5 separate regions of the Homo sapiens genome follow, and regions 1, 2, 4 and 5 are each linked to region 3. Evidence: promoter capture Hi-C in 16 types of primary human blood cells and fetal thymus (Javierre and others, 2016). All regions are on one chromosome and are shown on one strand. Each heading gives the region's core, a stretch centred on a gene start or on the middle of the fragment in contact. The rest is flanking DNA. Distances are from core to core; before and after follow the strand shown.

Region 1 (5,131 bases), core at 1,347-3,846, 2.6 Mb after region 3:
AAAGTTGGGGACCACTGCCCTAGAGGGTCCGATTTCGGTGGCCCACCATGGTAGCTTGCTCGATAGCGCATGCTTTATTGGTTTCTTTTCCCTCCCTATCTCACTTCCTCACTCTTCTGCTGGTGTTTTCTGCAATCCCCTCCCAAATAAACTAATTGTGCTTGGATCCCTGTCAGTTCTACTCCAGCTAGAAACATCATGCACTTTCCCAATAATTTACTTTTCTGTACCCATCCCCATTTCCCTGAGAGACTAACCCTTTCATATTCTTCCTGTCCAAACTGTCAAGGTCAGAGGTGCACTTTGCTACAGGCTGGGCCTGAGATTTCTCTTCACTCTGAAATCAAGATGATTTCTCTATTCCACTCAGTTGTTGGTTCATCAGACCGCGTGCTCTTTCCATTGTGTGGGGGATATAGGAAAGCTTGAGTCAGACATTCATACCTGGCCTAGAATCTTGACTCTATTACTTACTTACTGCAAAACCCTGGGCAAATCACCTAACTTCTCTGATCTTCAGTTTCCTCCTCTGTGAAATAAAGATAATAATCCCTGCCTCATCAGGTTGTCCTCCGGATTTAATGATCTAAATGTATAAAGAACCAGGAGATTGACTAATACAAAAATACTCTGGAGAAAAGATCATTATTTTTATAATATCGTTCTCTTGTATTATTGAATTTCTCATGTGCCTCCATCTTGTTTCCCAACCTTAACTGTAGTTTCTCTGCCGCATTTACCTTCATCATACTGACCTGCACGTGACAAGCACTAAACATTATCAATTTTCTAAAGCTTTAAAGTGCTAAAAGAAAAACTTCAGCTGAATTCAATTTAAAATAGTTTAACTGAGCAAAGAATGATTCATGAATTGGGCAGCCTCCTGAGCCAGGGTAGCCTCAAAGACTGCAGTGCAGTCGCGTGGTGGAAGAGAATTTATGGACAGAAAAAAGAAAGTGACGTACAGAAAGCGGAAATGAGGTACGGAAACAGCCAGATGGTTACAGCTCAGCATTTGTCTTATTTGAACATGGTTTGAACAGCTGGCCACAATTGAGTGGCCAAAACTCAGTAATTGACACCCGAGTAGATCACACTCTGTTTACACTTCCATTTAGGCTACAGTTCAGTGTACAGAGAAACCTTTAGGCCAAACTTAAAATATGTAAAGAGGCAGTATTAGGCTAAACCCCATTTAGCAAAAGTAGATCATGCACTCTTTCAATTCAATTCAAGACTCATTTTTGGATTATTTGTTATTGGCGAGGCATTCTCAAGGAATTTTTAGCAGGTCTTTTGACTTTTCAGTGTCCTTGTTTGAGAAATACAAGTTTTGGTCTCTAATTCTAGATACGCTGACGTCCCTCTAGCATTAAAGTTTGGAATCTATACATTCCTGGAGGGCAAGGACGGTGATTTTTCTTTCAGACCCCTCAACACTTACACCGATGGTGGGTACAGAGTGTGGCATACAGAATTGATGCTGGTGCACACAGAATGAATTCCTGTTCCTTTTTCCCTCTCTCCCTGGCCCTCGCTCCACTCCAGCCAGACTGGTTTTTCTTTGTACCCCTAGAATTTTCCAGGTTGTTCTGCCTTGAGGACTTGGTACTTGCCCCTTCCCATCATTCGATTCTCTGCCCGACCCCAGTCTCTCCATCCCATAACCCTGCTTTGTTTTTTCGTTCTTGTAATTACTCTCTGAAATTGTCTTACTAGTCATTTATTTATTTGTTTATTCTCTCCACCTCTCCCCCAGTCCCCAAATATAAGCTTCTATCTTGGATCTTTTTGTATCACTGCTGCTAAAACAGTACTTAGCACAATCTAGGCCCTGAAATAGATAACTGTAAAATAAATGAATAAACTCTACCATCCCTTATACAGTAGGTTTTACAGTCATCCCTCAGTATCCTCAGGAGATTGGTTCCAGGATCACCTGCGTATACCTGAATCTGCACATATTCAGGTCCTTAAACAGGCTCCACAGAACCTGCATATAGGAAGAGTGGGCCTTTGCCCTCTGAATACTCGCATTTCCCATCCCACGGATGCTGTATTTTCCATCTGCATTTGGTTGAAAAAAATCCGTGTCTAAGGGCATCCACGCTGTTCAAACCCATATTGTTCAAGATCAACTGTAGCTGGTGAGGTGAACTCTGCAGCTATCACACACCAGGTTCTAGTGAACGCTCTTAGGGGAGGGTAACCCATACAAGTGAATTAACCGCAGAGGTCTTAGTACACATGGAGTGGGAAGAAAAAAGTTATCCCCTGGAAGACAACTACAGACAATTGTATCAGCTATTTAGAAATCATATCAGCATATCTTATTTGCTGTGGAAACTTTAGGTAACATTTTAAAACGAATTCATTTCTTTTTATTATGGAAAATGTCAAACATAAACATGAGTAGATGTGGTAGGTAAGAAAAGCATAATGGACTCTCATGTACACTGTGGTGGATGCACTCCGGGGTGTCCCTCACCCTAGGGTTCATGCCCTGTGTACTCCTCTCCCTTTGAGTGTGTGCAAAACATGCTTTCTGGCCAACAGAATGTTCACATTTGAAGTTGCCCCCGTGGGATTGCTTTATGTTATATAAAATTCTGTCTTGCTGGAGACTCACTCTGGGGACTCTCCTTGCAGGCCTGACAAAATAAGTGGCTGTGCTCGGAAAGCCCAAGTGACAATGAAGTCCAGGTAACCTCTAGGAATTGCAGGTTCCCTCTTGGAGCTGAGGACAGTCTCCAGTCTCCAGCCAGCAAGAAGCCAGGGCCCTCGGTCCTACTGCTGCAAGGAAAGGAATTTTGCCTGTGCCCGGAGTCAGAGTGGAAGCCAGTTCTTCTCCAGTGAATGTGAACGCAGCCTGGCCAGCCCCTTGATGGCAGGCGTGAGACCCTAAGTGGGGGACTGAGTGTACCTGGACACCTGATCCATAAAAACTGTGAGAAAAATCTGTCTTGTTTTAAGGCCACTACGTTTGTGGCAATTTGCAGCAATAAATAATTAAGTACAAGTACATGTCACCCAAGGTCAACTATTTTCAACAGTTTCCAATTGTTTCATTTATACCTCCATGTCTGGAGCTGGGTGGGTGGGAGGAGGGGAGTGGATGGGCTGGTGTGTTTTAAAGCACATTTCAGACTTTATATTATTTCGCTGGCAGATACTTTAGTACATATCTCTAACAGACAAGGAAGGACTTTTTAAAAGCATAACCATAATGCCAGAAAAATTCGGTTTCATTGAGAATAAGAGTGGGAGTCTTTTTTAATGCCATCAAATCAATGGATCTATTATATTAATTGGACACCCACAGAAAAGGTGCTTGCAATAAACAGAATAAGAATAATACCCCGTTGATCTCATTAGCTAAAGGACAGGAAAGCATATGAGAGCTTTCACTTGAAATGTATGAAGCTTTCCAGTTGGTTTTTTAAAACTAGTCCAGCCACAAATACTTAATTGTCCCTGTAATATGCTTGTCTCTCATACAATATCTAAAATAATTAAAACCCAATTATTATCGTGTGCTTAAGATCCATTCTCCCTAGACTCTAACCGGCTTTGGAATGGACCCCTGTAAATTTCACTTGTATTCAAAACTCCTTGTAATTGCATGTCATACTCTAATTGCTATTCCCATCACTTTTTCCTTACCACAGCTCCTCCCAACTGGCCCTCTTGGATAAGCCAATCTCATCCCCCTTCGACACTCCTCACTGAGGCACGCTTTGTAAGGGACATACTTAGGGCTCTGGGTTCGATGCCATCTCTACTACTTGGGAGCTTTGTGATGTTTGGCCAGTAGTTAAGCTTTCTCTAAGCTGGATACAATAATGCCTCACCGGGTTCCGGCGAAGATTAGACAAAGAACATGTGTAACGTGCAAACTGCCCAGTACAGAGAAGGCACCGTTCCCCACAACCCCCTTTGTTGGTTCCCATCTCCCACCACCTAGCCCCAGAACGCCCAGCACCACGCCTCTCCTGCCCTTGTCGCGGGGGATGCAGGGACTTGTAGTTTCTAAGGCCCCGAGTCGTGCTTCTCCTCGGCGCAGGCCTGCGGGCGGAAGAACTACACATCCCAGTGGGCTGTGAAAGGAAAGTGGGGCTCGGGAAATTGAGCATCCCTGCCCAGCTGCCTTCGTTTTCTGCGGCCCCGGGGCTATGCCCACCTCTGCGGGGGCTCGGACCCGCGGCAACGCCTGGGAGGGCGCGAGCGAGCAGAAGCCCCAGGCTCCGGCCGTCCCAGGGCCGCGCCCGCAGCTCCTCCTGGGCTGTCGGGTGGGAAGGGGGGAGGCGCAGGCGGGAGAGGAGAAGCACGCGACCCCTCCGCTGCCGAGGGGGCTCCACGGGGGAATGGAGGGAGAAATAAAGCGAGCAGCTGTAAACGTCCGTGGGGAGAAGTGGAGACCGAAAGAGCTGGGCGGCAGCAACCCAAAACCTGGCCTCCAAGGGCTTATACTCCGGGAGGGAGGCCGGGGCCGGAGGGGACCCTGACCGCTTCCTCTGCCCTTCTTTCTCGGCCCGGAAGCCGGCCGAGCCGGGCCCCGAGACCCTCGCCCGCAGCCCGGTCCCGAAGTCAGGCCGGCCTAGGGCCGCCCCACCCCATCCTGGCACCCGGCACCCCCAGCCCATTTCTCGGGCATCACCAGAGTCCCCGGGCGACGCGACCACGCGCCCAGCTGGGGAGGAGGAAGAAGGGAGGCGCAGGCCGGGGAGGGTCACCTCCGCGCCGCGGCTCCTCAGGTCCCGGGGAGTCGCCAGGAGTGGCTTGCCGGTGGCCGTGGGAATGAGCGTGTCCCGAGGCGGCAGCTGCTGCGCGGGATAAACCCGGAAGAAGCCGCGAGACGGACTGAAGTCGGCCAGGAGCGCACTGCGCGGCGGGGCCGCGGGCGCCCGACCCCATCCCTACTTGGGCGATGCCACAGGGAGCCCCGCGCCTTCCACACCCCAGGGCGCCCGCCCGAGGGGGCTGGGGCTGGAATCTCGCTGCGCCGGTGCCCTGGCTTCGCGGGCGAGGAGGAGGAGGAGCAGGAGGAGGAGCCGCGGGTGAGGCGCGAGGCCACCGCCCACCCGGCCCGGAGGAGGCGGACCCACTCGGAGCGCCGCGCGCGCGCCGGGCT
Region 2 (5,157 bases), core at 1,661-4,160, 2.0 Mb after region 3:
GAAAGAAAAAGGGGGAAAAAAGACCAAAACAAAGCAAAAAATACCAGAAGCTTAAACAAGACAGAAGTTTATTCTTATTTCTCATACACGAAGTCAGGAGGTAGACAGCAGCTGAGCTGCCCTGAGCAGCTCCGCTTGAGCGTGTGGACGTACTGACTTCCAAGGGAATATGCAAAATGTCGATTTTTTTAAACAGGTGGTCATGTGCCCAGCTAAACACTGGGGCTTCTGTAACTAAAGGTGGGAAGAACAGATATTGGGTTAGTTAGGCAACTTGCTTCTCTGCCGTATGTATGCAAAGTGCCAGACACGGGATAAACATACTAAGTGGTATGTAATAACAGTTACAAAGCTCAATGCAGCCTAGAGGTGGTTTGGTTCATTGATTAAATACAACTCTTTGTGTCTGAGGTTTTCTCTTTTTTACGCTTGTGCACTATCCCTAAACAGGTAAGTGAATGAGAACAAGGGAGGGTGTACCGCAGGCCGGGGGCATCCCCATCCCCGCTTGGGCCAGCTTCTCCTTTACCTTTTCCAGAGATTCGAGGTGGTTTGCCCTAAGGTTTCACACCTGTGTGAAGGTGGCAGGAAGCAGCCAAGTCATGATGCAAAGCAAGGACGCTGCCCAGGCCTGGGCATTTCAGCTTCTGCTTGCCTCTCCTGCTCCCTCTCAGCACCTGTGAATGACAGCTCAGGTCTCTGGCAAATGGGAAAAACCCAGGACATGCCAGTCACATTGGACAAGACATCCTCTGTATCAGTGACAACAAGCAAGACGCCCCTCATGCTGTGCAAGCAGGTGGCCCTGAGAAAGGGTTGGTTGTAACTCATGGTTAGGTGTCTTGAATTTGGTCCATTTATTTTGAAAGGTTTTCCATGGATCATCTCAATCTCACAAATTCCTAGATAACAGAGAAGATGCTCAGGCTACAGAATGTTCCCACTGTGTGGAGTTGAGGAGTTGTCCTCCGCCTCTTAAACCTTGAAGCTTGCTTTTTCTTTTGAGACAAGTTCTCACTCTGAGGCCCAGGCTGGAGTGCAGTGGTCTGATCACAGCTCACTGCAGCCTCGACTTCCTAGGCTCAGGTGATTCTCCCAGCTCAGCCTCCCAAGTAGCTAGGACTACAGGCACATGTGACTGTACCTAGCTAATTTTTTTTTTTTTTTATAGAGATGAGATTTCACCATGTTGGCCAGGCTGGTCTCGAACTCCTGGGCTCAAGCTATTCGCCTGCCTTGGCCTCCCAAAGTTCTGGGATTATAGGCATGAGCCACCATGCCCAGCCTGAAGCTTTCTTTAGAGCTAAGTTTCTATGGTGAGCAGGGTTGGCTTATCAGAGCAGGGCTGGGAGAGCAAGCTGGGTAGGACTGATGGGTAGTGTGGAATGGTCTGGACGGCAGGGATAAAAGCTGGAATCTCCAGTTGCTTCATGCCAATATGGTTTGGGCAGGAAAGGGTGGAGAGGAAAAAGAGGAAAGAGAAGGCCTCGGCCCTGCCATCCTCTCACCTCCTTATCTAATCTACGACCTCATTCTTCAGTGTTACCTCCTCACTGTCTCTCTCATGGAGGCCACTGCTAGCATACATGGAGCTTTGTGTAAGTTAGAAAAAGACACCCCATTCTCCAGTGGACTCAGCTCTGTGCCAGGACTCAATGAGTAGCATGCAAGGCCCTGGCTGAATCAGAGCCCCCACCCACCTCCTTGGCCTTGAGCAGTGAGCAATCTGCACATTCTGAAGTAGTGGACTCTGTGGGGTCAGTTCACTTATCTCTATCCCCATAGTCCCTCTGGTCCCCATACAACTCCACCATCTCTCTTTTCTCACTTGGGCTATGCGCAATCATCACAGATAATTAGGAGAGCCATTTATAAAGAGGCCTACATTTAGACGCGGTGTTGTTGCCAGGTACAGTTATACATTTAGTCCTAGAGATAACAACAACTAGATTAAAAGATGTTCTTCATGTTTTTTGCTTTTTAGGTTGGGATCTATGATCAGCTCACACTGCCCTATGAATTAAAAAATAAATAAATCTTAAGATTTATTCTGCAAAAGGCATATTTGTATAGCATTGTATTCTTGAGTCTGTACATTAGGAATTTAAAAATGTAAACATTAAAATAAACATTTGTATGCTCCTCTTTTATGGTTTTAAAAAATATCATAATATCCTCAGAGCCGCAATAAATGAGAGTGGCCAGGCCGCCCTGGTCCCAGAGGTTTGAGCCCCGACTCCCGGGACCTGCCGCCCGATTCCAGCTCTGGCCGCACTGCCAACATGCTGTCTTCCTAGCAGTGGTTTCTTGCTATAACCCAGATCTGATGTCAGCCCCCTGCTTCAATGCCCTGGTTACTTCCCACTGCTTTTGGGTCACAAGCCCTGATTTAATTGGGCCTGGGACAAGCATGGTGGTCCCTGTCTCCCAGCATGCCTGCCCTCACCCTGCTCTCCAGTCCCACTTGCCTCCTGCCGTCTGCGGCACTCTTTCCCTTCTTTATTTAATGTTTTCTCCTCTTTCTTTAGTGTTCAGCCCAAGTCACATTTCCTCAGGGAAGCTGTCCCTCAGCCCCCAGTCTGCATCAGGCTCCTTGGCTATTTCCCTCATAGAACCCTGTACCTTTCCTTCAGAACCCATTGCTTTGTAACTCTCCATTAGTGATCATTCAATGAATGATCCGGTACATTCAATGTGGTCAAGTGTTATTAGTTTTTGTTGTTCACTCCAGTGCCCACAGCACCTAGCACAGGGCTAGGGCAGAGTAGGTGATAGACAGTTCCTTGTCAAATGAATAATTGGGGTTGAGGCAAGGAGTCCCCTTCCCAGATGCTCCTTGTGGGTTATGCTTTGGCAGGGAAACCTTTTGGCATGTCCGGTCCTTGAGAAAGAGGGTCACCTATACTACACAGAGTACAGCTTGACACAGGTGTCACCTGAGGGCCCAAGAAGATGCCAGGGAGAGCTCACTGAAATTTAAGTCTTAGAGTTACATGTTGCAATGTAACTTCAAGTTAGAGAGAGAAAAAAATTCTTTATATTTAACTTGGGCATTTTTAGGGGAATGGGTTAATAAGCAGATTCCTCAATGAAATTATGTCATTTTGGTATGAAAAGCATATAACCAAGTCCTTTGGCCCTGACCAAGACAATTAGATGACTGTCATAAACCCTTAAAGGTGCTCACTGACTCGCATAATGAATTAGAAACCAAGTCATCAGGTATAAGCAAGGTGAACTAAAAACGAGGAATGCGCTCCATTAATGCACGAGTTATTGTTATTTGGGACTTACTGTTTTTGAAACATAGTCTTATTCTCAAAGTTTACCTGTACTATAAAGCAATTAATCATTATCTGTGAGAGACCTAGAAGGCCTTCAGGTAAGTTCCTGAAACTTTTCTAGAAAACTGAGGTGATTCAACTGCCAAGTGACTTATTTGTATACCTGATTATATATGCTTACTACCCAAATATTTATTTTGAGGAACTAGAGTGGAGTTACCTATGCAGGACCTTTAGCCAGCCAGGCAGCATGTTATCACTAAGAACGGCCACAAAGATGACTACATGATGTGATGTAGAATACTGAAAAACACTGGTAGGTGCTCAGTAAGTGATTTTCACTAATGGCAAAATGATTGAGGACAGTACTGGAAATAAAAGCAGCCATTGAACACACATTTGTCTAAAAGTTACAAGAAATTTATAAATGAGGCTGTGATAAAGTCATTCAAAAGCGGACAGTCCAGGATAAAATAAAAAGTACAATGTATTAAAATGTAGTAAGGTGTTTCTTAATGTATTTCACTGGTGTTACTATGTTTCTAAGGAATTTGGAGAGAAACTGTAGTAGCCTGATGTTAAACTTAAGGTTCTGGAAGTCCAGACTCCACAGTGGTGGGTTCCAGGTGTCAAGTCGGAGTTGTGTCAGCGGGAGGATTAGGGTCAGCTGCCCGCTAATGGCAGCCAGCAAGCCTCCGCTGCAGGAAATGCTGCGGGATGGGGAAGGTCTGAGCTTGCTTCTTTACTGGCCAAATCCCATGTGACATTGAGGGGCAGACCTTAGTAGGTATGAGTGATTGTTAATTGTTTATCTCCCCTATGAAGGACAGGACCAAGGTAATTATCTTTCATTTTCAAGGCATGGCACAAGGTAGACTCTAGGTAAATTTGTTGAATGACTACATGCAGTGTATCTCCATCCAGGTTTATTATCCCCACAATAATTTTCTTAGTAAGTTTATTAGTGCTACCGTCTGCCATAGTTCCCAAATTTGAACTATTTTTTTTGCCTAGGCTTCTTTTTTTTTTTCAAATCCTACCTAATTGATTTGCACAGTTGTTTCAAATCAAATGCTACATCCCATATCTTGCAGTGACGCAGTTATTCACTGCTAACGTCTAAATCGGAGAAGTGAAAAGGACAATTGTTTCGTGCTTTCTTAAGTCCCTGACCAAGATCAGTAGGGAAATCCCATTAGCTCTATTCATCGCATTTCTCATAAATCTAAAAGGAAAGCAAGTATCCAAAGCTTTATTCTTTAATAGTTCTTATTTGTAAAACCTTGACAGGGCTTTATTCTAAATTGCTTCCAAATTACATAAAGAATAGTTAGAAATATGATGGGCAGTGAATCGTGATAGTTTCAGTCATCGAATAAATAAGTAGAACAGTAAAAGGGGACTAATCTGAAAGCAAACAGAGTATGATGGGCTACGATGAGGCAAAAAGAACAGAACTGTGGAATTCTTAAACTACCATCTGGCTCAATCCCCTTTAAGTGGCCAAGTTGAAGAGCCTTTTATTCAGTGCCCTAAAACTTATTCAAAAGGCGCAGTATTTGAATATTAATATTTCCATACAGTAAAAAAAAAAGTCTTTTGTAACCAAAAAGGAATGTTTAACAAAATAATGGGTAATCCTCTGGCTAAACATGAGGGCGTGGGGAGCACCCTGTGGGTGGGAGGTCGGCTGGAACCCAGGGTGGCTGCGGGCAGCCTCCGGGCCTTCCCCTCATGGCTTCTTTGTGGTTAGGGTAACTTATTAAAGTTGTCATTGTGGTTTGAAATTTAGGCAAGAGGTGTAAAATTAAGGAATTCATTAGGAAAAATGAGCGCAGTGATTTCTAGTACCTTATTTCATCAAAAAGAAACA
Region 3 (5,447 bases), core at 1,447-3,946:
GAATCGCTTGAACCCGGAAGGCGGAGGTTGCGGTGAGCCGAGATCGCGTCATTGCACTCCAGCCTGGGCGACAAGAGCAAAACTCAGTCTCAAAAAATAAATAAATAAAAAATAAAAGCCGGGCGCGGCTATAATCCCAGCACTTTGGGAGGCCAAGGCAAGCGGATCACAAGGTCAGGAGATCAAGACCATCCTGGCCAACATGGTGAAACCCCATCTCTACTAAAAATACAAAAATTAGCTGGGTGTGGTGGCACGTGCCTGTAATCCCCGCTACTCAGGAGGCTGAGGCACGAGAATCGCTTGAACCCAGAAGGTGGAGGTTGCAGTGAGCCGAGATCGTGCCACTGCACTCCAGCCTGGCTACAGAGCGAGACTCCGTCCAGCCCCGCCCCAACACCCCGCAAAAAAAAAGATTGTGTTTAGGCTGCTCTCTGTATCTTCCCCCTCTGCTTACCCTGATCAAACTATGCCCTCTGTTACCATTCTGAATGCGGAAGCTTTATTAAATCAAATTGTGAAGCATGTTAACCACTGATTTTATCCTTTAGCTTGTATTGCATTTTAATTTCTCAGGCCTAAGTAATTCCATCAACACTCATTTCATGTATGACCTAATAAATAATCCCTCACAGGCCAAAGCAGCGCCTTTTTTTTCCGTTCTTTTCTTTTTTGTTTCTCTTTTTGAGACAGAGCTTCACTCTTGTTGCCCCGGCTGGAGTGCAGTCACGCGATCTCGGCACGCTGCAACCTCCGCCTCCCGGGTTCAAGCGAATCTCCTGCCTCGGCCTCCCGAGTAGCTGGGACTACAAGGGCGTGCCACCACGCCTGGCTACTTTTTTTGTATTTTTAGTACAGACGGGATTTCACCATGTTGGCCAGGCTGGTCTCGAACTCCTAACCTCAGGTGATCCACCCGCCTCGGTCTCCCAAAGTGCTCGGATTACAGGCGAGAGCCACCACACCCGGCCTCAAAGCAGTGACTTCTGATTGTGAGAACCTGGCATGCACAGAACTGAGTGCAGTACTTTCTCAAGCCACAGTAAATGCTCCTTTAGATGGAGTGATTAGGGGACCTCTTTCAGGAAGATTGAAGGAGGAGGAGTCAGCTATGGAAAGGACAAGAGCAACAGCACCCTGTGTGAAGAGACACAATTGTCCTACCTATGAAAACACTGCTTCTTGTCAAGTAACAGAAAGGCCAGTGTGGCAGGAGGAGAGTCAGGGAGCAAGGGAAGGTGGTGTGAGCTGCGGCAGGCTGGGCTGGGCCTTCAGGCCATGGTGAGAAGTTATGATGGTATCAAATGGGCAATGAGAAAGTATTTAAGGGATTTAAGTAAGGGAGTGACCTGATCTGATTTATCTAAGAAAAACATCCCTCGGCTACTGTCTGGAAATGAACTGTAGGAAGACAAGCAAGGGACCAGTTAGGAGGCTACTGCAAGTGTCAGTAAAAGATCATGGCTAGGCCTGAAGATGGGAGACGGTGGAGAAATCTGTGACAGAATTTGAGATTTTGAAAGTAAATATAAAAGCACTTGGTGAGTTATCCCTGTTACCTTCTCAGTAGCCAGGCCCTATACTAAAGCTGCCAATGAAGTAGAATGAAGGCTCTGAAACCTCAAGAAGGGCCTTACTTTCCCAGTTTCACGGGGCTCTGCGCACAGCTCTTAGGAACTACCTTGATTCCAAAACTCTCCAAAAGTACGATCCTGCCCTTATGTTCCTCTCTCCCTTTGAGTGAATTTGGGAATGATTGTTGAAAAATGACTTTCAACAAGAGGACAGCAGTGTTCGGGGTTCCACGATACATCCCTATCTTTTAACATCGATAAGTATTTTTAAATTGGTACCTTATTTTGCGCTGCACGAGAGAGAAGGCTTTTTACTAGCAGCATCTCCTAATCCATCTAAGAAATACTGTATTTACCTTTACTCCAAGTATCCTAGGGCAAAATTCCTTTAGAACAATTCATCTTCCGAAACAGACGGGTTCCCTTTTCACCTATTCAAGTGTTGTGCATTCTAGGGTCCCCTTCCCGCCTTGCAGACAAATGCGCTCATTGTGCCACTCCAGTCCCTGGATCCTATGCAGCGGGCATTTCCTGCAAGGAGCTGCTGCATGCCTGTTTCCCTCGCCGCCTGCCCCAACCCGAATCCAAGGCTTTGGTTTCTAATGTTCCCTCCCTGTGCAGTTAAAACAATTGAGTTCAGTTACTAAATAGATGACCAGGAACTTTTTCTTGGCGAAGGCTGCGGATGTTTAGGGCACTGTCCAGTAAAGTTGTGAAAAGCAACTAAACCCTGCCGCTTGTGCAAAAGGACCAATCCACCGGGAAACAAGGGAAACGCGCACATTTCCTCAACTTGCCGCTTCTTGGGCACGTTTAGGCTCTTATTAGAGCCGCGCTTTGGAGTTGCCTCCTCCTGCTGTACAAACCCGCCGCGGCGTTCCCCCGGATGCCGCAGCGCTCACTCCCGCGTCCGCGGGGCGCGGGGAGGGGGCGAGGCGCGGGCGGCCCCGGAGCCAAGGCGAGGGCAGCGGAGCCCAGCCGGGCCTACGGGCGGCGACGCTCTGGCCCCAGCGCGCTCGATGGTTTCCGCGCGGCCGCCGGGGCTCGCACGGTCCAGTCGCCAGGGGGCGCGCTAGCCGGCGCCGCGGATCCCCGAACTGCGCGGCCCGACTCGAGTCCGCCATATTGGATGCCGCAGCCGCTGCTGCCAGCGCTTCCTCCTCTGTCTTCGCCGAGCGGGGCTGGTTCCTGCGGCCCGAGCGGCGGGGAGGTGAAACAGGAGCCCGTCGGAGGAAGGGGCAGAAGGGAGTGGAGAGTGTAGGGGAAGGGGCTAGAGGGAGGGGGACCGAAACGGAGCGGGGCAGAGAAGAGAAGGCGCCGCGGCCCAGCCCCTCCCCCGCCCGCCGCCGACCCGCCCCGGCAGCGCCTCTGTTCCCTAGAACGGCGCTCCCCCCGCCCTAGCGGCCATGCCGGTGCCGCTCTGCCGCTGAGGGAGCCCTTCCCCGCCAGCGCGTGCCCTTCCACTCCGCCCCGAGGTCGCAGCGGCCCGCTCTCCCGCCAGCGCCCCCTCCTCGCGGCCACGCAGCAGCCCGCGTCTCGCTCTCCCCACCCAGTGCAGTGGCCGCCGCCTCTTCCGCCGCCGGGCTCGGGGCCTCCGCAGCGACAACATGGAGGCCGTGAAGACCTTCAATAGCGAGGTTGGTATGGCAGCCGGGTTCCCCTGCTCCTGCCCGCACCGCCCCCACCCCTGGTCGAGGCCGGGGCCCGGAGGGTGGGCGCGGGCCTGCGGGTTTTTTAAGGGTGGGGTGAGCGGTGGCCTAGCAGTGCCCGTGGGGGAGGGGTGTTTCTCCTCTGGGTGCCCCTCCCCCGGGTCCGGGAGGAGGGTTGGGGGAGGGCCGCCCTGGGGCGGAGGGAGGTTCTGGCGTCTCCGGCGTCCTATGGAATGGCTGCGAGCTCGGAGGGAAAGACCCGGTTGGGCCCTCACCCGGAGACTCCCGACAGGTCCCTCGAGGTCAGTTCCGCCGAGGCCTGGCCCGCCCACCTCCTTCCTGGGCCTTTGAGGATTTAAGTGGACGCTGGACATGACTCTCCAGACCTTCCCGGGTCCTCACTGAGGCTAACACCGATTGGGGGCGGTGGGGGAAATGAACCTACGGGGTGTTGATCTGTGGTCACGTTACACGTAGTGTTTATAATTGAGGCATTGTTGACTAGGTAATTTGCCAGCTAGGGACTTGAGCTAATTGGATGGTTGGTAGGCAGGCAAAGGTTATTCTGCAATATCTTTTATTTTTACTCGCTCCTCTTCTAATCCATCACGACATAAAGACAAATGGTAGGGAGAGATCTGTGCATCGAGAGATGGAAGATTATGGGGGAAACATTTCTCGCTGGTTCATTCACGTGTCAAACAAGATTTTAAAAAGCAGATTCCATTTTCACTGTGTAGTTGAATTTACTAGTCTGGAAGAAGACAGGTTTTGATGTATTCAATTTCTTTTTAAACTCCGACTTCAATAGGCCTTAATGTAAACATCAAACATAGCAAGTACACATCTGCACAGTCAGCATTAGTATCCCTACCCGTACGCCTTGGAAAGTGTAATTATGGCCGGGAACAGTGGCTCAGGCCTGTAATCCCAGCACTTTGGGAGGCCGAGGCGGGCCAATCACGAGGTCAGGAGTTCAAGACCAGCCTGGCCAACGTGGTGAAACCCTGTCTCTACTAAAAATACAAAAAATTAGCTGGGCGTAGTGGCAGGCACCTGTAATCCCAGCTACTTAGGAGGCTGAGGCAGGAGAATCGCTTGAACCTGGGAAGCGGAGGTTGCAGTGAGCCGAGATCTGCGCCACTGCAATCCAGCCCAGTGACAGAGTGAGACTCTGTCTACAAAAAAAAAAAAAAGAAAAAGAAAAAGTGTAATTATGCTGGTAACTAAATTAGCATAAATTTTATGAACTCTTAAAGTGCCAATACTTTATTCGATACTATGATTGTTAAAGAGTATCTTTAATATTTACCTCTTAAAATACGAGGCTTTTTGCTGTGACGGCCCAAATAGGACAGTACTTTTAAATGCCGTTGCATAGTTTTATCTTGTTTTAATTTCTTTAAAAAGAAAAACAGTATTTGGGAATCTTAGCTAAGAGGCTAAACGGTAGATAATATTTGGGCTATTTTCAATAGCAGTGATACATAACTTTTTTTGGAAAGCATTTTCTTTTTTAATACTACATTTTTTATTTTTAACATTGATAAATTAGAGCAATAGACTTGGGAATCTTCTTTTTTTTTTTTTTTTGAGACAGAGTTTCGCTCTTGTTACCCAGGCTGGAGTGTCACCATCTCAGCTCACTGTAGCCTCCACCTCCCGGTTTCAAGCGATTCTTCTGCCTCAGTGTCCCGAGTAGCTGGGATTACAGGCGCACATCACCACGCCCCGCTAATTTTTGTATTTTTAGTAGAGATGGGGTTTCACCATGTTGGCCAGGCTGTTCTCAAACTCCTGACCTCAAGTGATCCACCCGCCTTGGCCTCCCAAAGTGCTGAGATTATGGGCGTGTGCCACTGCGCCTGGTGTTTCATTTTTTTTCATAGCTATCTTTCTTTTTTTGAGGAGTGTCATTCTGTCACCCAGGCTGGAGTGCAGTGGTGTGATCTTGGCTCACTGCATCCTTTGCCTCCCGGGCCCAAGGGGTCCTCCTCTCACCTCAGCCCCCCAAGTAGGTGAGATTACAGGCCAGTGTCACCATGCCCGTCATTTTTATTTTTTATAGAGAGGAGGTCTTGTTATGTTGCCCAGGCTGTTCTTGAACTCCTGGGCCCAAGCGGTCCTTTCACCTTGGCATCCCAAGTGCTGGGATGACAGATGTGAGCCACCACGCCTGGGGGATTTCGTTTTGTTTTGTTTTTTGCCCTCATTGGATTTAATT
Region 4 (5,352 bases), core at 2,387-4,886, 2.1 Mb after region 3:
TTAGGAAGATACTTGGATTGCTGGGGTATTTTTGGTAACTGTTTAGATAATGTATGCTGGCTGAGGAGTAAATTCAGCTACTGCTTCTGGGTCCTGAAATAAACCTTTCAGAAAGCGAGGCATTGATGATTAGTGGAGGCAGTTCCAGAATTCTTAGTATCTACTGTTTCTTTTTGTGATGAGCATCTTAGAAGTTAAACCACTCACCATATTTCATAGCCTTATATTGAAATGATTGTTAATTCTAAAATTCATTTAGAAGCTGGCGTCTAATTTGTGAAATCTTGAGAACCACCTTTTAAGATTCAGTGACCATATATCAAGCTACACACCCATTTTAATGCCCTTTAAATTTTCTGTTACCACTGGTATATTTTATAATAAATTCACTCTAACTAATGAATTATAAATGACCTTGGAAATAGGAATGTGGAACATTGCTACTGCTGAGCAAGTATCTTTCTGAAGAAGCAGACATAATTCCGAGGGGACTGGCATGTTTGCTGTGTATTAGTTTATTTTGGTGATTCTGAGGATTTGTGAGCGAATAAGCTTCTATGATGAGGCATCCTGACACAATGGTAAGATCATGGGCTTGGAGCTGGTCAGACCTTAGCTCATTTGGAGGCCTCAGCACCCATTTTCTCTGCACTCCAGCAGGGGGTCAGTTTCCTTACCTGGAATGTTGGCTGCTGGGCAGGGTTGTTGAAAACCTTCACTGAGGTCATGGATGTCTATCTGTGGCATCTGTATGTGGCCCCTCTCTTCTCTGCCTACCTGCCTTCCCATGTGGGGCTTGTTTTCTCATTCTCTGCCTGGTCCTGCTGTACTTCGGGGTGTGGCTGACTCAGGACAAGCCCTTGCTGGCATCAATTAGGTGATGCTCAGCCCCTCCCAGCTCCAAAAATCTGTGCTGCTTTGAATTTTTAAACAAATAGTGCCTAATCAGCTATGCACCGCTGAACAGCTTATTAAACCACACTAGATCCCAGACATATTCTGTGAATATAAACTGAGACCTGTGCAAATACATAGATTTTTGCATTCCACTGTAGTTTCCCTTACAGAATGTGGTTTTGTACTGATTGGGACTCTTGCTCAGCAGTTGTATAAATTGGTTTTGGTTTACCCACAGAGCCTACGGCTGATGCCATTGGCCCCAAGCTGCTACCCCATTCAATATCCCATCCCTAATATTAATTAGTGGTCTCTTCTCTGGCCAACAATCATTCCTCTGTTATACTTCCTAAACCTTCCCACTTTGATGATCTGCAAAAAATGACTGGCTTTTTAGGAGAATTACTTTTTGCAAAGGAACGAAGTTGCAAAAATTTAAAAGTAGGCTTCTTGGAGATTTTGGGTGCTAGACTTTGGTCTCTCATTAGCTAAGTAACTTGCTTCTGTGTTTGCTTCATCTTCACTGAATATATGATTTAGACTTGATCCTTAGCAAAATTATAATTTACTATGCATGGAGGGTTAGGGCTGCTCTTAAATAGTCAAAACAGGAATGTCAAATCTAAGAGTACCGGGGTCCTCCCTCAAATATATAAAGAGCAATTTTTTTTAAATGCTGAGATTTATAAAACTATCAGGGACAAAATGTAATTCTATTATGAACAAATACTTACTGAGCACCACTTGGTGCTTAAGATACACAGAGTAAAGATGACATATGATCCTTAATTTTCCCAGGTGTATTATCATAGACTCCTGGTGTTTTACAAAGTGGAAATTAAAGTGAATGGCTACAGTTTTCTTCTGTAGTTCTTATGCAAAAAGACTATATTCCTCAAAGTGCACCATCTAAGAAGTATTTATGGAGTAAATGATGTATCCAAGCTGAAACTTTCCTAACGAATGTATTATTCATTTCCAATATCAGTTGCAAGGAAATCCGTTTGGTCAGTATTTGCTATTCTATGTGGAAGGTCAGTGTACTTGGAGATTGTTCTTTGGTGCTGTGACGTTGATGAGAAAGTGATCCTAATTTGGATTTTGTATTGGGTGTCATTCATATGGTGATTTTTCTGCTAAAGAAAAGCCTTCACATCAGTAACATGAAGGATTTAATACTCAGTTCATTTACTTCACTGTATTGAACTGTGTGCGTCAGGGCTTTGGAACTATAGATTCGTGTCATCACAGCAATAATGTGGGCAGAAGGCACATGTTTGTGAAGAGCTCACTGTGTGCCAGGCATCATGCTGGGTGATGGGATTCTTTGGTGACCTCCACAAATGGACAATGCAGGAATTAAGGACAAGTAAACATGCTACACAGTAAGGTGTAAAGGATTTTGTGAAAGAAGTTTTGATGTTAGAGGGTCACTTTATATAGATTAGGTTGGGGTGGAGTTGAGGCAGGAAGGCTCCTACAGCAAAGGAGGTCTGATGAGCTAAGACTTGGTTAATGAGAAACAAACAGTGAAGGTAAAGAGGCATGGGGCTTGGGGCAAGGGCTAGAGCCAAAAGCTGGCAGGTTAGAGAGCACTGGAAGATTATGCATTTACTAGCTGTGTGACCTCAGGCAAGTCACTTCGCTTCTCTGTGCTGTGTGGTTTCCTCATTTGTCAAAGAATGGGAAAGGATACTTAACTCATGGAATTTTCATGAGGACTAAACTTTATAAGAAACGTGTATGCTGCTTGGCAATGAAAAGGACCTTTTAATAGAGTAACAAAGGATTGTATTTTCTCATGAATAAGGAATTAAAATGAGTTAGAGGCAATTCTCTATTAGTTAATTTAACAAGTTACTTAGCAGCCTATCGGTCTTTCAGAGCAAATAGGTTTATATTTGAAGCTTAGTTCTAATCCATACCATGGCAGTTTTCAAATTTCCTGATATGTTTTTACCTTGTCCAGTGTTAGGAAAAGTAAGTTATTGAGCAATTCTAAAATGTTTACTGTAGTTTGCCTGTTTTTTAAGCAGTCATATTTTTAACTGGTGAGGAAATAAATTCAGAAGATTTATAATTGAAGAATTTAATTTTCCTACCATCAGTAAACATTTAGTGACGTTGGTGTAGGGGCACTGTACCACAGAAGTAGATATCCAGAAAATATTTGTAAATTGTTAAACATTGTATTAATTGTTGAGCATAGAGTGATGTCCTTAGATTACTGAGTAAACAGTGGTGATTAAATTAATTAAGATAGTTTGTGGGGTGTTTAAATTTTACTTAGTATTCCATTTAATTAGAAATACAGACAATAACTCTGGCCTCATAAGCAATCTGAATTTTGAGTTGAAGGAAATGGGTGTCTGGCAGACAATTTCCAAATTGGTAAAATGGATCTTTTGCTTCTACTTTATTTTCTTCATGTATTAAACAAGTATTTATTATTGTTGACTGTTGGAAAATTTTAAAAATTACAGTCATACTTTTTATGACTTTGCTGGGTGTGGAAATCATCCCTTTCCCCCCATCTTAGTGCCAACTGCCTTTAACCTGAATTGGCTGATGCAGAACGCATTTCAGGAAGGCGCCATGCATACAGGAGGCAGAGACATGCCCTCTGCAATCCTGACTTTTCCTCTTTCACCCATGTCTATTGTATATGGCAAGACTCTGTCCTTCCTCCTCCACTCTGATATTGGTCGGAGACACAAGCACTTAGAAGCACCAGTGTTTTATTCTACAATTAATTACTGAAGAGGGAAATTGAAAGGTAAGCAGTTTTGTGTTTTATCTTTTATTATGCATTAAGTTTCTGTAATTTTCCATATTGCTATATTATTAGTGAGAAAGAGAAGAATAGAGAAAGATGGAGAAGATGAATTTTATTTAAGACAGTTATATTTGGATAACTTAAAAGAATATGCTTTTTTAGTCTAAATACCCTTTCCCAGTCTAAGTAGTTTCATGCTTCATGGAAAAACTAATGCAAAGAAGTTGTAATCAGCTGTTAAGATATTTGAGCCAGCTGGCTGTCAATATGTTGAAGTTTTATTCTTGGTGCATCCACAAATTCCATATAAATGTATTTTATGAAGAGGAAGGTGTACTAGCATGGCTAAACTGGTAAAGCTGAAATCTGGATTTGATTTGCATATGTGGTATTTTTCAGGGACTCTCAAACTTTCACACATGAAATAAACGAGGTAATGTGTATGGCATCACATGATCAAAATATTTTTCCCCTTGCTGCTGCCAGAGCTATCTATTGCTTTTCAACAGTCTCACTTGTTGGGCATCATGCCAAGATGTTTAAGACAACCCCTTACGTGAGCTGTTCCATTCTTAACCTCTTTGACTGAAGTGCCGTGACCTTCACATATGTAGATTAGCCATGTGCTCTGTGAATTGAAACTTGCTGCCTCAGGAAGAAAAGGGTTTTTCTTTTTATTCCACTGGGAATTTGACGGCCATTCATCCCTGACCTGGGCAGAGGTAATGCAAGGAAATTGGATTCAAACGGAACACGGACAGATAACACAGGGAGGCAGTCAGCGTGTACAGGCAGGCAAGCTTTCTACCTGGTCCAGGGTGAAAATACCCACCGTCTGTTCACAATGTGCTGATGTGCAGGATCCGAAGAGCAACTGACAGATGGAGATAGAGAGATAAATGTAGGAATTCTGGAACCGTGTCCTTTTAAAAAAGGACATTGTTATTATGGGCATTGCTAATTCGTTTTGACTCTCCTCTTTCTCTTCCTTTCCAAACTATATTTTTGAAATCTTTGAATTTTTGTTTATTTCCTAATGCTAGGAATTAAATACTTTTGACATAGTGGACAATTTAGATGAGTCTTTCAAAAGCAGAAATCTTTAAAAAAAAGGAGAGATGAATGTATGACCTGTATCTGGAATTTTGAAATGAATTGATACTTAGAACTTTACTCATATGAGAGTTATTAGCTTTGTAATAGCTGAGTATTTTTATTATAGCACTGTTATTTATGGCTCTTCTAAGTCTTTCTCTAAACCTACATTTCTTTATTTGAGAGGCAAGAATGAGAAGCAGCATATCCATAAGAGTTTTGCCAATCACTCCTGACTAGAATGACAAGCTGATTTCATGTTTCCCCAAGTATCAGTCCTATGCAGCCCCCCCTTTTTAAAAAACCATGCAAGGCCGGACCCAGTGGTTCAACACCTGTAATCCTAGCTCTTTGGGAAGCTGAGGTAGGAGAAGTGCTTGAGGCCAGGAGTCCAAGACCAGCCTGGGCAACATAGTGAGACTCATCATAGTGTAATGATGAATAAAAGTAATTAATAGCACATTTTTGGATTTTTATTAGACAAAGCTAGTTTTAAAGAACATTTATCTTTGCCTTGTTAATAAACATACTTGCAGTTAGTGTAAAATTCAGTATAAATAATAGTCATGGTGCTTGAGTAGGCT
Region 5 (5,489 bases), core at 956-3,455, 2.3 Mb after region 3:
GGTATGCAGATATGATCTATATGTGTAATTCACAAGCAAATGTCATACGATGTTCACAGTATTTAAGATTCAGCATATTTCCTGTTCGCGTTTTTCCTTTAAAGTCTCCAATGTTGATTAGAGGTTTTAATTTAAAAAATAGTTGAGGTTAGTAACCTAGCATTGTGAAAGTCAGGGCTTGGGAAATTCAAACATGTAATCTTTTTTCCTTTTCTTAAATGAAAAGTCTATAATAAGGCCTTGTTTCTAAATCTAACAGCCTTGGAAATTAAAATGTAAACAGAAATGCTGTCAGTGAAACTTACAATGATTTTTTCTACTATAATTGATCCAACATTTCAGTCTTTAGCCTAAAATCATATTTGGTATCAGCAACATATGGTTTTCTATGAAAACGAGGCTGCTCATCTCCATCCCTAATGGTAGTATCTTTCTTTTGCTTTCCGCACCAGGCTCTGCCAGTGCCAGGGGGTGGTCAGTGAGCCTGGCTTTCAGTGAAGCAGTTGGAGAAGACAATTTGCTTCCTTGTTTCTTCTTTTGACCCTTTTAACTTTCATACTGGATGAAAGTCTTATTGTCATGGCCTTCCTTTCTATATTTTCTGTCCACAAGGGAAGAATACAATTTTGTTTTATAGCAGGATACATTAGATAGGCCTATGTGCCTTCTACTTAAACACCTGCCACACATGCCTAGTTTTAAAAGGTTTAAAACTGACAGTGAAGCCTGTTACAGTCTGATATTGCCCACCCACCCCGTCTTCCTCTTTAAAAATACTCAGATGTGTTCTGTTGCCTTCTTTCCTTGTTCTTTTCCATCGTGTATTGGTACTTTGCAATAGTCAAAGTTAAAAGCTTTACACACGACACTGAATAATTATGTTTAAAAAACAGTAATTATCAATACACGTTTTGTTCCTCGCAGCTTTTTAAAATTCATGTTAATGAGCTCTGTCTTCTATGCATGAGACTGACAGGCAGTCTTGAAGTTTTGCCATCATTTCACAACTTGTTGCTTAGACACTGCCTGCCTTTTCCAGAGTATTGCTTTCAGGAACTCTTGCTCTGCAACATTCCAGAGATCCAGCGCTGCCCACTCTGATCTGAGCAGGACAAGAATCTACTGGTAGCACACATGCATAGTGAGATTGCTCTACAAAGGGCAGCTTCCCCTCACTGTCTGTCAGTAAAAGACCAAAAGGCATATGCAACATGTTGTGATTTAGGTGAGAAGGATGATTCTACTCACTCCCTGGATTGTTTTTGAGGAACTTCAACCACTACGTCCACATGATGGCAGATGGATTCATTTGATAGGAGCTCCCGCCGTCTTATAGAACTGAAACCCAGACGGTGACTGGGATTTCAGCCCAGCTCTTGAAGATACTCACAGATCTCTCTTTCTTGACAACTGACATAAATGGAATGCCAGTTTTCTCAGAACTCTCAATTCTAGGCCATGCCTGTGTCTGGTTTCTGTGGCTAGACTCAAAGAGGTTTTTGATAGTGCCTAAATTATGTTTTTCCTTATGATTTCAGGTTGAAGTCTTGGCCTCGGAGGATGCAGCCTTTGGACTCAAGGTGTGTAGTCTGGTGTAGTTCATTGTGGAGGTTTTTGTCAGTTCCTCCTAGGTGGATTTGAAGGTTCAACAGAGGGGACTTATTTTTTTTTTAATCATAATCAAAACACTGAGGTTTAAAAATCTTCACAAGTTTAAGATTTCTCTTATTGTGATTAAGATTAGACTGTGGTAGTATTTTCATTACCTTCTTTGTTGTGTAGAAAGAAACAATACAGGAAAACAAGAGTTTCGTTTAGCAGTAATTGACTTTTAAATTTCAATTCGGCATAGCACAAGATTTGCTTAAATTTTGCCCCAGTTTGGGGCTACTGAAATGTAAGATGTTATCAGAGTGCTGTATTTAGTTCATAGCTCCAGTGTTATTCATTGATTTATTAAACGTCCCCGCTTCAGACAGAACCCCTACCGTCCAGTTACAACCGGATTGAAAACCCAGCTCCTTCCCGTGAGGACCTCATGACCAGCTGACAGATCTAAGCCTATAAGCAGATAAATCATCCCACAGGGTAGCTGTATCCATGCAAGAAACATGCCAGAGGCTGCGAGTCGGGTGGAGTGGAGAATGGGAAGGCTTTCTAGGAGGTGGATCCCTGGGCTGAGTTTTGAGGGCTTAGGTTATACTGAGGCAAGAAAGGAGGGCAGGAGAAATGAGAGCTATTTTCGGGTAGAACAGCCACCATGAAAAATATCTGAGGAAGCTAAAAGTAGTTAAGTTTCTGTCTGTGTGGCAAGATCTGAGACTGGAGAGGTTAAAGATAACTTTCTCCTATAAAAAATGGTAAGCTATTAAAAGATTTTAAGCCAGGTAGTGGTCAGATTTGCAATTTAGACAGATGACTTTGGCCACTTTTTGGAGGACGGATTAACCAGAGACCAGTCAAAAGCAGTTGAATAGACCCAGTAAAAGTGAACACAGGCCTGAGCTGGCATAGTAGAAGCAGTGTCAGAGGGCAGAGGACTGGCAACCGCAGTGTGCAGGGTCTGGTGCCTGCTGGGGTATGCAGAGTAGGAAAAGAGGAGCTCAAGATGAGTCCAGGGACAATATGGTGTCACCCTGAGATAGAGAACACAAGAGGAAGAATTACAGATTTTTAAAAATTATAATCTTCCAGACCTGAATTGTCGATCAAATTACTTGCCTTTTGTACATATTTCCTGATAATTTTTAAATTTGTTAAATTTTGAGTAAATTGGGAGGCATTTGCCTTTTGTACATATTTGGTGATAATTTTTAAATTTGTTAAATTTTGAGTAAATTAGGAGACACTTATTAGAGAACTCTGATTTCATTTTCATATAGAGGTGTAGAAGTATAGGGTAGGTGCCATCAGTTACTTCGGAAGTCAGTTTGGGAGGATAGGAAGGTTGGTAGAAACTATTACAGAACACCAGGTATTGGTGATGACCCTCACGTGACTCCTCCATGTGCTACATCTTTGGCTTGAAACCAAGTTGGATTATTTATATATACATATATATATTTTACCATTTTTTTATCCTATATGCTTGACATTTCAAAAGCACAGTCTACCAGTTGTACAGTAATGACAGGTAAGATGACACTGTAATGCTACCAAAAGCAAAGTTTCTGAGGTTACAAATGTAGCACAATTTTACATTCATAAATATATGAAGAAAATTAAATTAATACTTTATAAATACTTGATACAACTCAAGTTTATAACCCTAATAAATTTTTTATGTTTCTGTATCTGCCAAAAATTACTAAAAGAAATTATTCTAAATAGAACCTAATTCAGTATTATTTACAGTATTTAACATATGGTTGTCTTGTGAATTTTTCATTTTTTATTTAATGCCCAGCATACATGTGGAATATTCATTGCATTTTTAATAGACCTGTAGGGTCAGTTCTTAGGAGCTCATTTTCATAATCCTTCATACTTACTGAGTATGCAGCAACGTTATAGAAGATTAGTGTAGCCAGCAGCTCTCATAGTCTGCCCTGCTGTGTGAAGCTTCCGTGTTTGTTCTGTGGCCAACCTAACAGGTTCCTTTTGTAGCCTTAACTTTTTTTTTTTTGAGACTGGGTCTCACTCTGTTGCCCAGGCTGGAGTGCAGCGGCGCGATCATGGCTCATTGCAGCCTCAACGTCCCAGGCTCAAGCGATGCTCCCGCCAGCCATGTGCCACCATGCCTGGCTAATTTTTTATAAAAATGCAGGTCTAACTATGTTGCCCAGGCTGGTCTTGAACTCCTCGCCTCAAGTGATCCCTGGTCTTGGCCTCCCAAAGAGTAGTGTTGGCATTACAGGCGTTAGCCACTGCTCCTGACCTCATAGCCTTAAATTTAATAAGTTGAAACAACAGTGAAAATTTTTTTCAACAATCCAGTGACTTTCACAGTAATAGATGCTTTTAGCTTTTGCTGATCTATACTGAAGTGTTTATACATATAATTAAAAATGGGAAATTTGACATTTCTTTTTTTTTTTTTTTTTTTGAGACGGAGTCTCGCTCTGTCGCCCAGGCCGGACTGCGGACTGCAGTGGCGCAATCTCGGCTCACTGCAAGCTCCGCTTCCCGGGTTCACGCCATTCTCCTGCCTCAGCCTCCCGAGTAGCTGGGACTACAGGCGCCCGCCACCGCGCCCGGCTAATTTTTTGTATTTTTAGTAGAGACGGGGTTTCACCTTGTTACCCAGGATGGGACATTTCTTTTTACTGCTTCATTATCTGGAAGTCGGCAAGTATATTTTTGAATTCCAAAAGCTACCTACCTTCCTTCCTTCCTTCCTTCCTTCCTTCTTTCCTTCCTTCCTTCCTTCCTTCCTTCCTTCCTTCCTTCCTTCCTTCCTTCTTTCTTTCCTTTCTTTCCTTCCTTTCTTTCTTTCCCTCCCTCCCTCCCTTCCTTCCTTCCTACCTTCCTACCTACCTACCTTCCTTCCTTCCTTCCTTCTTTCTTTCTCTTTCTTTCTTTTTCTCTCTTTCTCTCTTTCTTTCTCTCTCTTTCTCTCTCTTTCTCTCTCTTTCTCTTTCTTTTCTCTTCCTTCCTTCCTTCCTTCCTTCCTTCCTTCCTTCTTTCTTTTCTTTCTTTCTTTCTTTTTTCTGTCTTCTTTTTTTTTCTTTCCAAGACGGAGTCTCGCTTTGTCGCCAGGCTAGAGTTCAGTGGTGCGATTTCAGCTCACTGCAACCTCTGCCTTCCAGGTTCAAGCAATTCTCCTGCCTCAGCCTCCTGAGTAGCTGGGACTACAGGCGCGTGCCACTAATTTTTGAATTCTTAGTAGAGACGGGGTTTCACCATGTTGGCCAGGATGGTCTCGATCTCTTGACCTTGTGATCTGCCCGCCTCGGCCTCCCAAAGTGCTGGGATTACAGGCGCAAGCCACTGTGCTCGGCCAGAATTACCTTATTTCATAAAGGTCTAGGTATTCAGCGTTAGGTTTTTAAACGCATTCACAATTGGTGTTTCTTCCTGTTTTTGTAAGCACTGGGAAAGGTAACTCAAGTGTCTAAGTCACTGTGGTAACACATGGCACCCTCTTGGCAAATGCACAGAACATTTCTGAGCCTGCTGGAGTGTGTGTCCTGTGTATGTCGCCGCTCCTTTTAGTGATGATCTTTAATGATCCTTTATCTTTCTGTACTTTTTTTCCTACTAATTCTTTATACTTGTATGCTTTGCCTTCTCTTAAGCGAAATTAAATTTACAAGCTTAATATTGACTTAGCACAAATTTGTCAGTCTTACTGGAAAATGAGTTAAATACACTGGGACCCAGAAATGAAAACAACTTATTTTTGTATGTACATGTGGCGAAACTACAACCCAGGGAAACAAGTGTGCAGTCTCGCAAAACTATCATGACTAGCAAGGTTGATCTGAGAGTAACTTTTTACTCTAGTCAAATGGCAAATATCTATGTTCTACTTCTTACATCTTAATTTT

Evidence for each region. The method cuts DNA at HindIII sites, captures the fragments that hold promoters and counts their contacts. A CHiCAGO score of 5 or more calls a contact.
Region 1: a fragment that was not itself captured here is called in contact with the fragment with the promoter of SCAF8 in region 3 in 1 of 17 cell types (fetal thymus); the score reaches 7.6 in fetal thymus.
Region 2: a fragment that was not itself captured here is called in contact with the fragment with the promoter of SCAF8 in region 3 in 1 of 17 cell types (neutrophils); the score reaches 5.0 in neutrophils.
Region 4: a contact is called between a fragment that was not itself captured here and the fragment with the promoter of SCAF8 in region 3, in 1 of 17 cell types (neutrophils). The highest score is 5.5, in neutrophils.
Region 5: a fragment that was not itself captured here is called in contact with the fragment with the promoter of SCAF8 in region 3 in 1 of 17 cell types (neutrophils); the score reaches 5.7 in neutrophils.

The regions. Positions count from the first base shown.
Region 1 is chr6:157,376,059-157,381,189 of GRCh38, forward strand. LOC124901446 reads right to left here and starts at 5,033. Exons shown (of 1, transcript XM_047419644.1): 1 at 3,256-5,033. The coding sequence starts at 4,643. The coding sequence ends at 3,753. RefSeq lists enhancers at 3,456-4,068, 4,680-5,131 and silencers at 4,270-4,349, 4,510-5,131. The HindIII fragment of the contact is 1,650 bases long and covers 1,772-3,421 here.
Region 2 is chr6:156,769,697-156,774,853 of GRCh38, forward strand. No RefSeq gene overlaps it. Among named protein-coding and RNA genes, the nearest start is that of ARID1B, 5.1 kb to the right of the region's middle. RefSeq lists a silencer at 3,819-4,113. The HindIII fragment of the contact is 3,243 bases long and covers 1,290-4,532 here.
Region 3 is chr6:154,730,720-154,736,166 of GRCh38, forward strand. It overlaps SCAF8 (SR-related CTD associated factor 8), which reads left to right and starts at 2,697. Exons shown (of 20, transcript NM_014892.5): 1 at 2,697-3,211. The coding sequence starts at 3,182. RefSeq lists silencers at 2,330-2,569, 2,600-2,719, 2,870-3,469 and an enhancer at 2,730-3,233. The HindIII fragment of the contact is 14,602 bases long and covers 499-5,447 here.
Region 4 is chr6:156,787,241-156,792,592 of GRCh38, forward strand. The region is part of intron 1 of ARID1B (AT-rich interaction domain 1B); the gene reads left to right. Among named protein-coding and RNA genes, the nearest start is that of MIR4466, 10 kb to the left of the region's middle. The HindIII fragment of the contact is 1,669 bases long and covers 2,803-4,471 here.
Region 5 is chr6:157,035,297-157,040,785 of GRCh38, forward strand. The region is part of intron 4 of ARID1B (AT-rich interaction domain 1B); the gene reads left to right. Among named protein-coding and RNA genes, the nearest start is that of MIR4466, 260 kb to the left of the region's middle. The HindIII fragment of the contact is 2,707 bases long and covers 853-3,559 here.